Linked DNA regions of Homo sapiens: all the other regions are linked to region 3. The links are contacts of gene promoters, found by promoter capture Hi-C in blood cells and fetal thymus (Javierre and others, 2016). All regions are on one chromosome and are shown on one strand. Each heading gives the region's core, a stretch centred on a gene start or on the middle of the fragment in contact. The rest is flanking DNA. Distances are from core to core; before and after follow the strand shown.

Region 1 (2,700 bases), core at 79-2,578, 1.1 Mb before region 3:
AAAAAAATATCAAGGAAACCTGGGGATGCTTTACAGTTTCATTTTCTGACCCATAGTAGACATCAAAATGTGTGTGAATTAACCAGAGAATGAATACCAAACTCCTAGACTTAGGATCAGAAATCTGAGCCACTTTTATCACATTTGGAGAAGTTCCTTACCTCTTCCTCTTCTTTTAAGTGAGAATCCTAATACCTGTATAATGGAGCCCTCGTGAGCATTAAATGATGTAAATATTTGTTGGCACTCAGTAAGTATAGGTTGTATTTAAATATTTATCTAAATTTAGGTCGTTTTCAGGTTTGGAATGGATCGTGTTCTAAAATTGCCTTTGTATTATTACCTAAACTTTGTACTAAGAGTGACTTGATTGGAGATGGTCATTGTATTCTGCAGATATCTATACTGGCAAATTTTCCATCCTGTTCAAGGGCTCCTTTGCCCACAATTTAAAAGCATTGTTTTATTTGTATTTTTTTGCAGGTTTGCATGCATCCCCACAATGTTCTGTCTGATGTGGTGAACTATACCCTGTGGTTAATGGAGTGTTCTCATGCTTCAGGATGCTGCCATGCTACCATGTTTTTTTCAATTTGCTTCTCATTTCGGGCCGTCTTGGAGCTCTTTGACCGCTATGATGGTCTTCGTCGTCTGGTGAACTTGGTGAGGTTCTTTCAGTGCTTTTCTCCCTAGGATTGAGGGTCCTGGTTGTCTTGGCTGCCCTTTAACGGCACACCCTTGAAGAAAGGAAGCTTCTGATTAGAGGAGTTTTGCTGCCATTCTTTTTGTGAAGTTTTTTTTTTTTCCCTTTCTTCACAAATTTCTCTTTTTCTTTAGTAGTTAGAGGACACTGTGCCGTTGTAGACTTGCCTTGGATATAGTAATCTTATAACGGGGATTGGCAGTTGATGATCTTGATCTTTGTAAAAGCAATAGTTTTATTCCTGTACATTTTTTAATATGATTAAAAGCTTGTTCATTTTTTGGTATGAGTTTAATGTTTTGCTTTCATATAGCTACTGTTAGCATGCTATATACATAGATATACATAAATATGCGTTGATATTTGTCAGTCTTGTTAAGCATAAAAGTTTACTGATACATAAGCAGAATATGTATGGAAAGTAAAAAAAGTTTACTAAAATATTTTCCCTTTTTTAAATATTTTTACTTAACTCTTCTTGCCTTTTCCCCTCTTTTGCCCCAATATTTTGCATCTTAATAGATCAGTACTTTGGAGATTCTAAATTTGGAAGATCAGGGTGCACTTCTGAGTGATGATGAAATATTTGCTAGCCGCCAAACTGGGAAACATACCTGCATGGCCTTGCGCAAATACTTTGAGGCTCACCTGGCCATTAAATTGGAACAAGTGAAGCAGTCACTTCAGAGGACTGAGGGTGGCATTCTTGTCCACCCACAACCCCCGTACAAGGTGAGAGGACCTTGCCTTGAAAGGGAAAGTTCTGTTAGCCCTCTCTGTAGCATCTCAGTCCTGAAACTCACATTCAGATCAGTGGACTCTGTGCTATGTCCATTGTTGGAGTATACTTCCCTGTATGAAGGCAGAACAATTGAAAAATGGATGTAATAGGTGAATTTCAGGGAATTATTTTGCTTCCAGTTGTAAGTTGCTGGGATTCTAGAACTAAAAGATTAACTGAAGTGTGTATAAAAAAGCTTTCTTTTTTTCTTTTTGAGATACGTCTCCCTCTGTCACCCAGGCTGGAGTGCAGTGATGTGACCACACCTCATTGCAACATTAACCTCCCAGGTTCAGGTGATCCTCCCACCTCAACCTCCTGAGTAGTTGGGGGACTATAGGCACACACCACCACACCCAGCTAATTTTTAAATTTTTTTGTGGAGATGGGGGTCTCACTATGTTGTCCTGGCTGGTCTTGGAACTCCTGGACTCAAGCAGTCCTCCCACCTCGACCTCCCAAAGTGCTAGAATTACAGGTGTGAGCCACTGTACCTGGCAAAGAGCTTTTTTGTATGAAAAGTACTAGATGATTTGCCTTCTGTGCAGAATTTCTTTTCTGAAAATGTGTTTATAACTCCACTTCACTATCATTGTGGAATTTGATATGTTTTGGGATAATGACGAGTAGCTGCATGTTTTTTAAAAAATCACCAGCAGATTTCTTGAGACCAGCCTGGGCAACAATAGTGAGACCCTGTCTTTACAAAAATTTTAAAAATTGGCTGGGCCCTGTGGTGTGCATCTGTAGTTCTAGCTACTTGGGAGGCAGAGGTGGGAGGATCATTTGAACCCAGGAGTTCAAGACTGCAGTGAGCTACGATCATATCACTGCACTCCAGTCTGGGCAGAGACTGTCTCAAAAAAAAAAAAAAAAAAAAGGGCATGGTGGTACACCTGTGTCAGCTACTTGGGAGGCTGAGATGGGAGAGTCACTCGAGTCTGGGGGTTTGAGGCCGCACGTGATCGGGCTATGGCACTCCAGTCTGGGCAACAGAGTGAGAACCAGTCTCAAGAAAAAAAAAAGTCACAAATTGAAATCAGTCACATGATGCTTCTTTCTCTTAAGCTGTAACTTATATGCACAAAGGAAACTTTTGTTATCTTTTTGGACAAATCATATTGTGAGTCTAGTTATAAATAAGATAAAAGATTAAGCAATCTATGGTCATTACTTCACATATGGGCTTTTGACTCAAGAATTGTGGAATTTGAAA
Region 2 (2,700 bases), core at 141-2,640, 1.0 Mb before region 3:
CAGGCCACCCACCCAGAGACGAGTGGTGGGGTTGGCCTTGCCATAGCCTATCTTAATGGGGTTGCGACCAATCACTCGGCCCGACATGGCCACCTTAGCCCTATGGGCCATGTCCAGGTTCTGGAACTTGAGGAAGGCATAGGCACCGCCCTGGCCACGGGCAGGCCTCTTGATGACCACCTCCTCGATGATGCCATATTTCTCGAAGGCCCTTCGCAGCTCCACCTCAGATACGCTGTGGTCCAGGTTACCAATGAAGAGGTTGCGCGTGGCCCGCTGGTCATCCTCGGGCATCAGGTCCTCCTCACACACAGCTGGGTAGCCATAGGGGCGCCCACGGTCGTCGTACAGCCCGTAGTAGTCCAGGGCCCGCTCCCGGGACAGTCCCACGGCGGCGGCAGCAGCGGCATCCAGGGCGAAGGCTGCGGCGGCGTGACGGGCACGGGGCTCCCGCAGGGGCGGGGCAGCGACGGGGGACAGCGAGCGCTGCTTGTACTGGTAGCCTCCGTGTAGCGGGAGGTAGCCGAGCGGGTCGGCGGGCGCGGGCGGCCCTGGGGGAGGCGTGGAAGCGGCGGCGCTGCTGCTGCTACTTCGCCGACTGCTCCCGCCGCCGCCACGCAGGTACACGGGCTCTACCTTGAGCGGGCGGTCGTAGAGCAGCAGCTGCCGGGCCAGGGCGTGCTGGCGGGCCTCGCGTGCGTCCTGTGGGTGCCGGAAATTCACGTAGGCCACACGGCCCAGCTCAGGCGTGTGCGACAGGCGGAGGCTGATCTCGCCGAAGCGCTTGAACTGGTGGAAGAGCCGGTCCTCGAGGTGCTCGGCGGGCAGCGCGGGGCTCAAGCTGCTGATGAGCAACGTCTTGTACTCAGGCGCGGCCGCGGATGAGCCGGGACACGCGGGCTCGGCCCCAGGCGGTGGCGGAGGCGGCGGCAGAGGAGACGCGCGGGGCGACATGCCGGAGGCGCCCGGGTCCCCCGAGGCCTTGCCGCCGCGTCCCCCGCCGCCAGCGCCGGAGCCCGAGGAGCGCCCGCTACTCGCGCGGTGATTCGCGTCCCCGGTGCCGCGGCCGTCGCGATGCCCGCCCCCGCCGCTTCCGCTGCCGCGGGGTTTGTCGCGGGCCCGCGCTGGAACCGGGTGCTTGGCGCCGCCAGAGGCCTTGTGCGCCGCCCGCCGCCCGCCCGCCTCCGCCTCCCGTTCGCGCTCCCGCGGACGCTTGGCGGACGATGACGAGCCGCGCCCGCTCGGGCTAGAGTCTCGCTCGCTCTGCCGCTTCATGGCGCTGGCGCGGCGGGCGGGCGGCCCGTAGGTTTCTCACAGCGGCGGCGGCGGAGGCGGCGGCCGAGGAGGCAGCGCCCCCGGCGCCGCCATCTTGGACAAAAGGACTCGGCGCGGCGGTGGCGGCGGGGCGGGGCGGGAGCGGCGCCGAGGGGCCGGGCATTGCGTTATCAAGGTGCGCCGTCCTGCCACGTGACTCTGCGGCGGGCGGAGCAAGACCCGCGCCGGGCCTGCCTCATCGCGCTGCGTCGCCCAGTGCCAGGTGACCCTGTGAGTGCTGGGTGAGTGGGACCGGCCGCGCGCTCTGGCGCCACCGCGCGGCCCGCATGGCCGATGCTTGAGGCTACGCGGAGTGTAGTGAACCCTGAGAGGCCGGCGAGACGACCTAACGCTTTGTGCTCCCAGCCGTGCTTTGCCGCTCTGGGTCCAGCTATCTCCTCTTGCAGGCACTGGAGCCCGCGCTGATTGGAGCAGGAGTGGCAGCTTCCATGGCCGTTGGGATCTGGGGCATTGACCCAGTCAGTGGTCTCTTTATGTAGTATCCCCTCAGTCCTAGGACTAGGCTTGAGCAAACCCCACATCACCCTCGTTGGCATCTCCTGCCTGGGATCCGGCGTTGACGGCGCCAAGGACTAATGCATGCCTATCCTTAGACCCTGCCCAGGACCCAAGGCCCACATTCTGCGCATTCTCCACGTGCAGGTTCACCTGCAGCAGTCCCCGAAAAGGCCGTGAGGACAATTGCTGTCACGCAGGTAATAACCGAAAGCAGAGACAAGCCTGCAGTTGCAGTTGATGGAGTTGGAATAGACTCTTTAACGCCACTCTTGGGTCCCACCCTCTTCTGTGGGCAGATAGCAGGCTGGAAAGGTAGGGCCGTAAGAGCCAAGGATGAAGAGGCCATATGCACAGATAGTGCCAGCAGTTATCACACCTTGCCACGCTGACCCCTCGCTGGCCAGTACCCTCCTGTTCATCACCTTCAGGACGACCTCTTCTCCCCAGGTGAGGTGAGGGAAAGGGTGCCCAGGTGCTCAAGCCCATTGAGGAAGCTTTCATTCTCCAAGGACAGTTGCTGGAGCCATGGTAGAACCTGACCCAATTTCTGGCACAGAATCCTTGCGATGGGGAAGAGCAGACCAAGTCATGCCCTCTTCGCACAAAGAGAAAGCAGCTCCTGGAGTAGCTCAGGCAGGTGCAGGGGGAAAGGTCTTGGAAGAAAGCAATGGGTTCCACAGCAGCAAGGCCTCCTACAGGCAAACTGAGCTTAGGAGACACAAGTGAAGTGATCTGAGGCAAGACCAATTACTTGGAAAGCACTGGTTCTTAGTCCGTCCTTTCAGGTGGTTTCTACAGGTGTCTTCATTGAGCCACAGCTCACACTAACAACTGGGTTTCCTAAGCACCAGTGCCACAGAGAGTGGC
Region 3 (2,700 bases), core at 191-2,690:
GCCACCGTGCCCAGCCTCAAGTCTGAAATATATACCATGGGCAGGAGTAGTTGGAGCATGCAACTCTTCCAAACAGATATTAAATGTGGACAAAGATTCAGAGGCTGCCAGGGCCACCAACCATGCCCATGCTCCCACCCCTAAGAACTGCCCAGGCCCACTACTTACAGCCAAAGACATAAGCACCGGGTGCCAGGAGAACAGGCCTGGAATGAGAAGAGGAGGCCTCATGGGGCTGAGGCAAGAAGAAACCAGCCATACCAATCCTTAAGGGTTGAGGAATACCAGCAGCCCATCACCCAAGGAGGTGCTGCCAAACTGTGAGCCCCTTCTTGCTCTGCAACAAGCTGACCCCACACCTATCCTCTCTTCCTGGCCTCTTCCTGGATCAGAGGCCATGCTTTGCCACTCCTCTGGCAGTCCTCCCTCCTTCCCTTACACCTCCTGAGAGGCAGCCAAATGGAGCACCCAGAGAAGGAAAGACAAACCAGGAATTCTGTGTGCCCTGGCCATACCTACCTGCTCCACCTCACTCATCGCTCCAGCACAGAATTCCCTCAACCAGCCAGGCCTGTTCCCGGAAGTCCCACTGCCCTTCCTCCCCAGGAACAGTGGCCCTTCCCTTCCCAGAAGTCAGCTATGAATTCTACTTACTGGAGCCAGGCCTGGCAAGCACAGCCACAAAGATGGTAAAGCCCAGGGCCACAAGGTGGGCGGCAGCGCCAGAAGCAGTACGCAGAGCTCGGTAGATGTGTGACTCGGTCTCCGCAGAAAGGGCCATCGTCAGCCGTGCTAGTGGTTGTAGCCTGAAAGCATAGTAGCGTGGGCCAGGATCTCAGGTGCCCACTGTTCACTCCTCACTGGAGAAAAGGCTGCAAGGCAGGAATGCCACCCTCTTCCAATAAGTTATGGTAGGAAAGAACAGTACCAAGACCAGCACCAGGAATGGTCACAACATGCCAGTCGACGGCCGGCGGCCTGTCAACGTGTACCCATGTCTGAACTGGTACCAATCGCTGGCCCGCCTTCCAGGTAGGAGGCGCAAAGCCATGTAAGACTACAAATCCCAGCGTGTACCACGCCGTCGCCGGCAGTAGAGCCAGCTGGGAGGGCGCGGAGCACTATGGAAATTGTAGTTCCCTGCTGCGGTCCCAGTTACAGCGTGAATCCCTTAGCGCACCGCCTCCCCAAGTGCTGCCAGCATGCTGCCCCTCCACGCTAGGGACTTGCCTGCCTCTGCCGCAGCGCAGATCTGATGCGGTGGTTTCCTCCAAAGAAAGCGGGATACTCCGGGCCCTGCCGCGCGCACCGCCGCTCCGTCACGGAGCCGCTTTACTTCCGGGTGCGACGTCTACCCACCCAGGACTTCCTGGGACGAGCCGTCCCCCGCCCCAGCCACGCCTCTGAGTCGCGCTGCGCAGGCGCCATTGGGCAGAGGGATTGGCAAGCTTGCGTGCCCCAGCGACACAGGCCTCGAGGCTGTCTCTGACAAGTGTTCACAGGAGGTGGGGACGCCTCTGCGCGAGGAACGAGGAGCTACGGGCCTGGGCCCGGTTATTGCCATGGGCAGCGGCTGCCGCATCGAATGCATATTCTTCAGCGAGTTCCACCCCACGCTGGGACCCAAGATCACCTATCAGGTGCCACCCGGGCTCGCGGGACTGGGCGGGAAGAGGGACGTTCTCGAGAGCTCAACTGGCTGCCTGAAGGCAGTAGTTTCCCGTGCTGCACGCAGGCATGCTGCTTCATTCGCAGACAACTGTGAGGCTAGAGGATAGTCAGACCCAGGCCCCCGGCTCCCAATGTGGCAGGGAAGACATACGTCACATTGGCAGTGTTTGTAGGATATCGGGCTGTAGGGATCCGGTTGGGGGGTTCCAGGTCCCACAGAAGGTGAGTTGGGTGACCCATGAGTATCCCTGAACTGAGTGAAGAGTAAATGATGCATAGGAAGTTTAGGTAAGGCAGGAGAAAGTGTTCCAGGTAGAGGGAACAGCATATGCAGAAGCCAGGAAGGAGGTGAGATCATAGCGTATGTTTGGAAACAGAAAGAAGTAATAGGCCTGAGTGGATGGGAGAGAGGGGAACGCTGGAGAAGAGGACTTGGGCTTGGGGGGCATGAGGAGGTCACCATTTGTACTACACCCAGTACAGATGTCCACTGAGGGGCCCATTGCCACTCCCCTCCCCAGGTCCCTGAAGACTTCATCTCCCGAGAGCTGTTTGACACAGTCCAAGTGTACATCATCACCAAGCCAGAGCTGCAGAACAAGCTTATCACTGTGTGAGACCCTAGCTCGGGGTGAGCGGTGGGTGGCAGGGGTTGTCCCAGGAGGAGGAAGGGACAGGCTTGGGGGCCTGACTGTGTTCCAATTATCCAGCACAGCTATGGAAAAGAAGCTGATCGGCTGTCCTGTGTGCATCGAACACAAGAAGTACAGCCGCAATGCTCTCCTCTTCAACCTGGGCTTCGTGTGTGATGCCCAGGCCAAGACCTGCGCCCTCGAGCCCATTGTTAAAAAGCTGGCTGGCTATCTGACCACACTAGAGGTCTGCAATGAGATGGGCTTGGGTTTACCGACAGGCAGAGTTGGGGAAGGTGTTCCCATGTCTCCAAAGTCCCCCAAACCTGGGACCCTGCAAACCAGCTCAGGACTCAGGGCAGCCAACCAGCCAGGGGTCCTGGGATGTGCCCACCAT
Region 4 (2,700 bases), core at 199-2,698, 1.1 Mb before region 3:
GGAGCCAGCAGTGTCTAAAGCTCATGTGAGTTATGAGATATGGGTAGAAGGGAGAGGTTTTCCAGTGGATACTTGAAATCTTTGATTTATTTGTGACATGGATTTTAGTGTTTTCTTGAGTGCTGTGCTGTTACAGCTTGTACATGTTTCTAGTCTTTCTGGGTAGCAGAGCTTGGTATTAGGTCCTCCAAATTTCATGTGGTTGCCTTGAGTGGGTTTCTTAATACTGCCTGTTCTTTTATTCTCACTTCAGTTTGCTACCTTAGACACCTCACTCCCTTAATGCCTACTTTTTCACATTAGCTATCATGAAACAAGATGTAGTTTATTCTTGAGTCCATACAGAGGGTGCAGTTGTCAGGCCATTTGCGCGTACATTACAATGGTATGGGTGGCTGTCGACTGCTTTGTCCTCCGTGGGTTTATTCATCACTACCAAGTATCAGTTCTGAATCAGGCTTCTTGGATGTTACATGTTGAAGCATAAATCTGAGGCCAAAACTGGATTGTTTGTCAACATCATTATCCCAGCCCTCCCATATCCGTGCATTTAATAAGGCAGTGGGCGGCAGTCTTCTCTGGGAACCATCACCTGGGTCCATGTGATGCCTGGTGTCTGTCTTTGAGGGGGAGGTCAACTCAGAGGAAAGTTGAGATTGCCCTAGACACCTTGGGAGTTGGAAGGCTATTCTCTGGGTTCGCCTTATTCTTGCAGACATGGAGTGGTGAGAGGCAAAGGCACTGGAGGTTGGTGGCTGGCTGTGGAAGCGAGAGGCCACCATAAGGGAATAATTTAAGAGTTATACTCCTCTTATCCCACTCTCTCCAGGAAGGCTTGGGTCAGGGAAAAGACTGACTAATTCTTCTTCTTTTGTCCTGCTTAACTTCTGAGAAGTTAAGGGAGAAAGAGATTAGGAAGGGCATATGGTAGTGGTCAGGACTTTTGACTTGGATGCAGGAAGGAAAGCAAGAGGCTGCCTCAGCGTGACAGCCAAGAGTGAGAGGGGCAGGGTCAAGAGGGCTCTAAGGAGTGGCTCTGGAGCCCAGCCTGTAGAAGAGCCGGAAAGCTTTCTAGCTCAGAGAAGACTAGGTGGCAGGGTAGGTGTGCAACATGGCTAAGTTATTACTGTGGCTTCCAGATTTCTTAGGATCTAGGCATGTTTCACTCCATACTGATATTACAGCTTTTATTGATCATCTGGTGCATTTCATGTTTGAAGGACCTCTGTTAGAGAACTGCTTATCCCCTCAAGCCCTTGGCATTTTGATTTTTGATTTAGAGATGTTTGATTTAGAGATACGGGATAATACCGTATCTATTTGAGTAGGTCTCTTTTGTAACCTTAATTCTGTTGATCCATGCTCCTTCTAGAATCTTGTGGTGGAGTTTGGCTGTTTTTACTATCTCCATCAGATTTCTGCCTACTGCCTCTCATGCACAGTGTGCCAGCTTGAATTTTTTTTAAACTCACTTTCCTTTGTAGGAAAACCAGTCTCTAGTTTTACTTTGCTTTGTACGCTTCACCTGATTTTAAAACTAGAGACTTTTCATTTTCCTATGAATCATTTGCTATTCAAAGTTTTGTCCTAGTCTAGATATCTGTTCTCAGGTCTTCTCAGATGTTCCAGATATGACTTATGTGGCTCAGGGATACAGGCACCTGTGACCAACACCTTTGAATTTGCCTTTTCATTATAGCAAAATAAATTCAGAAGCCTGAATGGTCAGCCGTCATCTAATAAAATGGTCCAGCATAAAGAGCTTTATCGAGATATAATTGACATGCCATAAAATATTTGTCCTTTGTCCTTATGCTTAAATAAGCTTGGAGATTAAGAGGAAAGGATGAAAGGTACAGCTAGCTGTATCTAGATGAATGAAAACCTAAACAATGTATTGGACACCCATAAATATTTGGTTCCTGAGGCTGCTAGTCTGCCTGCCTTCAGGCATTTGATGAAAGCAGAGATAAGCTAGTCACCTATCACAGCTCATTATTATCCATTAGAAGTTTGGTATCTGGTTGTTTTTTTTTTTTTTTTTTTTTTTTTGAGATGGAGTCTCGCCCTGTCACCCAGGCTGGAGCGCAGTGTTGCGATCTTGGCTCACTGCAACCTCCACCTCCCAGGTTCAGGCAAATCTGCCTCAGCCTCCCTGAGTAGCTGGGATTGTAGGCGCCTGCCACCACAACCGGCCAATTCTGTATTTTTAGTAGAGATGGGGTTTCACCATGTTAGCCAGGCTGATCTCGAACTCCTGACCTCAGGTGATCCGCCCACCTCGGCCTCCCAAAGTGCTGGGATTATAGGCATGAGCCACCGCGCCCAACCTGGTGCCTGTGTTTTTAGAAATCAGTTCATTCATCTTTGATTTGACTTTTAGAAAAGTTACAAAACCCAAGATAAGTAATTGATCATTGCTCCTAGATTTTGACAAGCCAATACATTTTAGCTAATTATACTTAACCTTAAATTTATAATAAAAAACTCAACAAAGGAATAATGCTCTCTGTTTTCCACTCCATTTTGGAGTCTGGGACACACTGTGTGCTGTGCTTCCTGTGTGTTCTCCACTGCCTAGAAGCGGATGTTAAGAGTCTTTACTGATTACACACACCTGGTCAGAGCTGAATGTGTTGATTCCTGAAAGGCCTCATTTTCTTAAAGAATTGAAATGTAACTTGAGTTAGATTCTGCCAT

Evidence for each region. The method cuts DNA at HindIII sites, captures the fragments that hold promoters and counts their contacts. A CHiCAGO score of 5 or more calls a contact.
Region 1: a contact is called between a fragment that was not itself captured here and the fragment with the promoter of NPRL2 in region 3, in 1 of 17 cell types (endothelial precursors). The highest score is 5.1, in endothelial precursors.
Region 2: a contact is called between the fragment with the promoter of RBM15B here and the fragment with the promoter of NPRL2 in region 3, in 8 of 17 cell types (erythroblasts, naive CD8 T cells, megakaryocytes and 5 more). The highest score is 12.1, in erythroblasts.
Region 4: a fragment that was not itself captured here is called in contact with the fragment with the promoter of NPRL2 in region 3 in 1 of 17 cell types (endothelial precursors); the score reaches 5.8 in endothelial precursors.

Annotation. Positions count from the first base shown.
Region 1 is chr3:51,427,996-51,430,695 of GRCh38, reverse strand. DCAF1 (DDB1 and CUL4 associated factor 1) reads left to right here. Exons shown (of 25, transcript NM_001387579.1): 11 at 484-663; 12 at 1,226-1,435. Among named protein-coding and RNA genes, the nearest start is that of RBM15B, 38 kb to the right of the region's middle. The HindIII fragment of the contact is 709 bases long and covers 974-1,682 here.
Region 2 is chr3:51,389,975-51,392,674 of GRCh38, reverse strand. It overlaps RBM15B (RNA binding motif protein 15B), which reads right to left and starts at 1,390. Exons shown (of 1, transcript NM_013286.5): 1 at 1-1,390. The coding sequence starts at 1,275. RefSeq lists silencers at 777-836, 947-1,026, 1,067-1,546 and an enhancer at 1,867-1,916. The HindIII fragment of the contact is 3,377 bases long and covers 1-2,329 here.
Region 3 is chr3:50,349,515-50,352,214 of GRCh38, reverse strand. NPRL2 (NPR2 like, GATOR1 complex subunit) reads left to right here and starts at 1,440. Exons shown (of 11, transcript NM_006545.5): 1 at 1,440-1,640; 2 at 2,193-2,284; 3 at 2,382-2,550. The coding sequence starts at 1,563. CYB561D2 (cytochrome b561 family member D2) reads right to left here and starts at 1,353. Exons shown (of 4, transcript NM_001291284.2): 1 at 1,231-1,353; 2 at 655-806; 3 at 169-206. The coding sequence starts at 781. LOC127898564 (CYB561D2-LOC101928965) reads right to left here and starts at 1,353. Exons shown (of 5, transcript NR_183066.1): 1 at 1,231-1,353; 2 at 655-806. RefSeq lists an enhancer at 1,179-1,398. The HindIII fragment of the contact is 2,178 bases long and covers 1-1,450 here.
Region 4 is chr3:51,407,337-51,410,036 of GRCh38, reverse strand. All of the region lies in intron 23 of DCAF1 (DDB1 and CUL4 associated factor 1), which reads left to right. Among named protein-coding and RNA genes, the nearest start is that of RBM15B, 17 kb to the right of the region's middle. The HindIII fragment of the contact is 758 bases long and covers 1,070-1,827 here.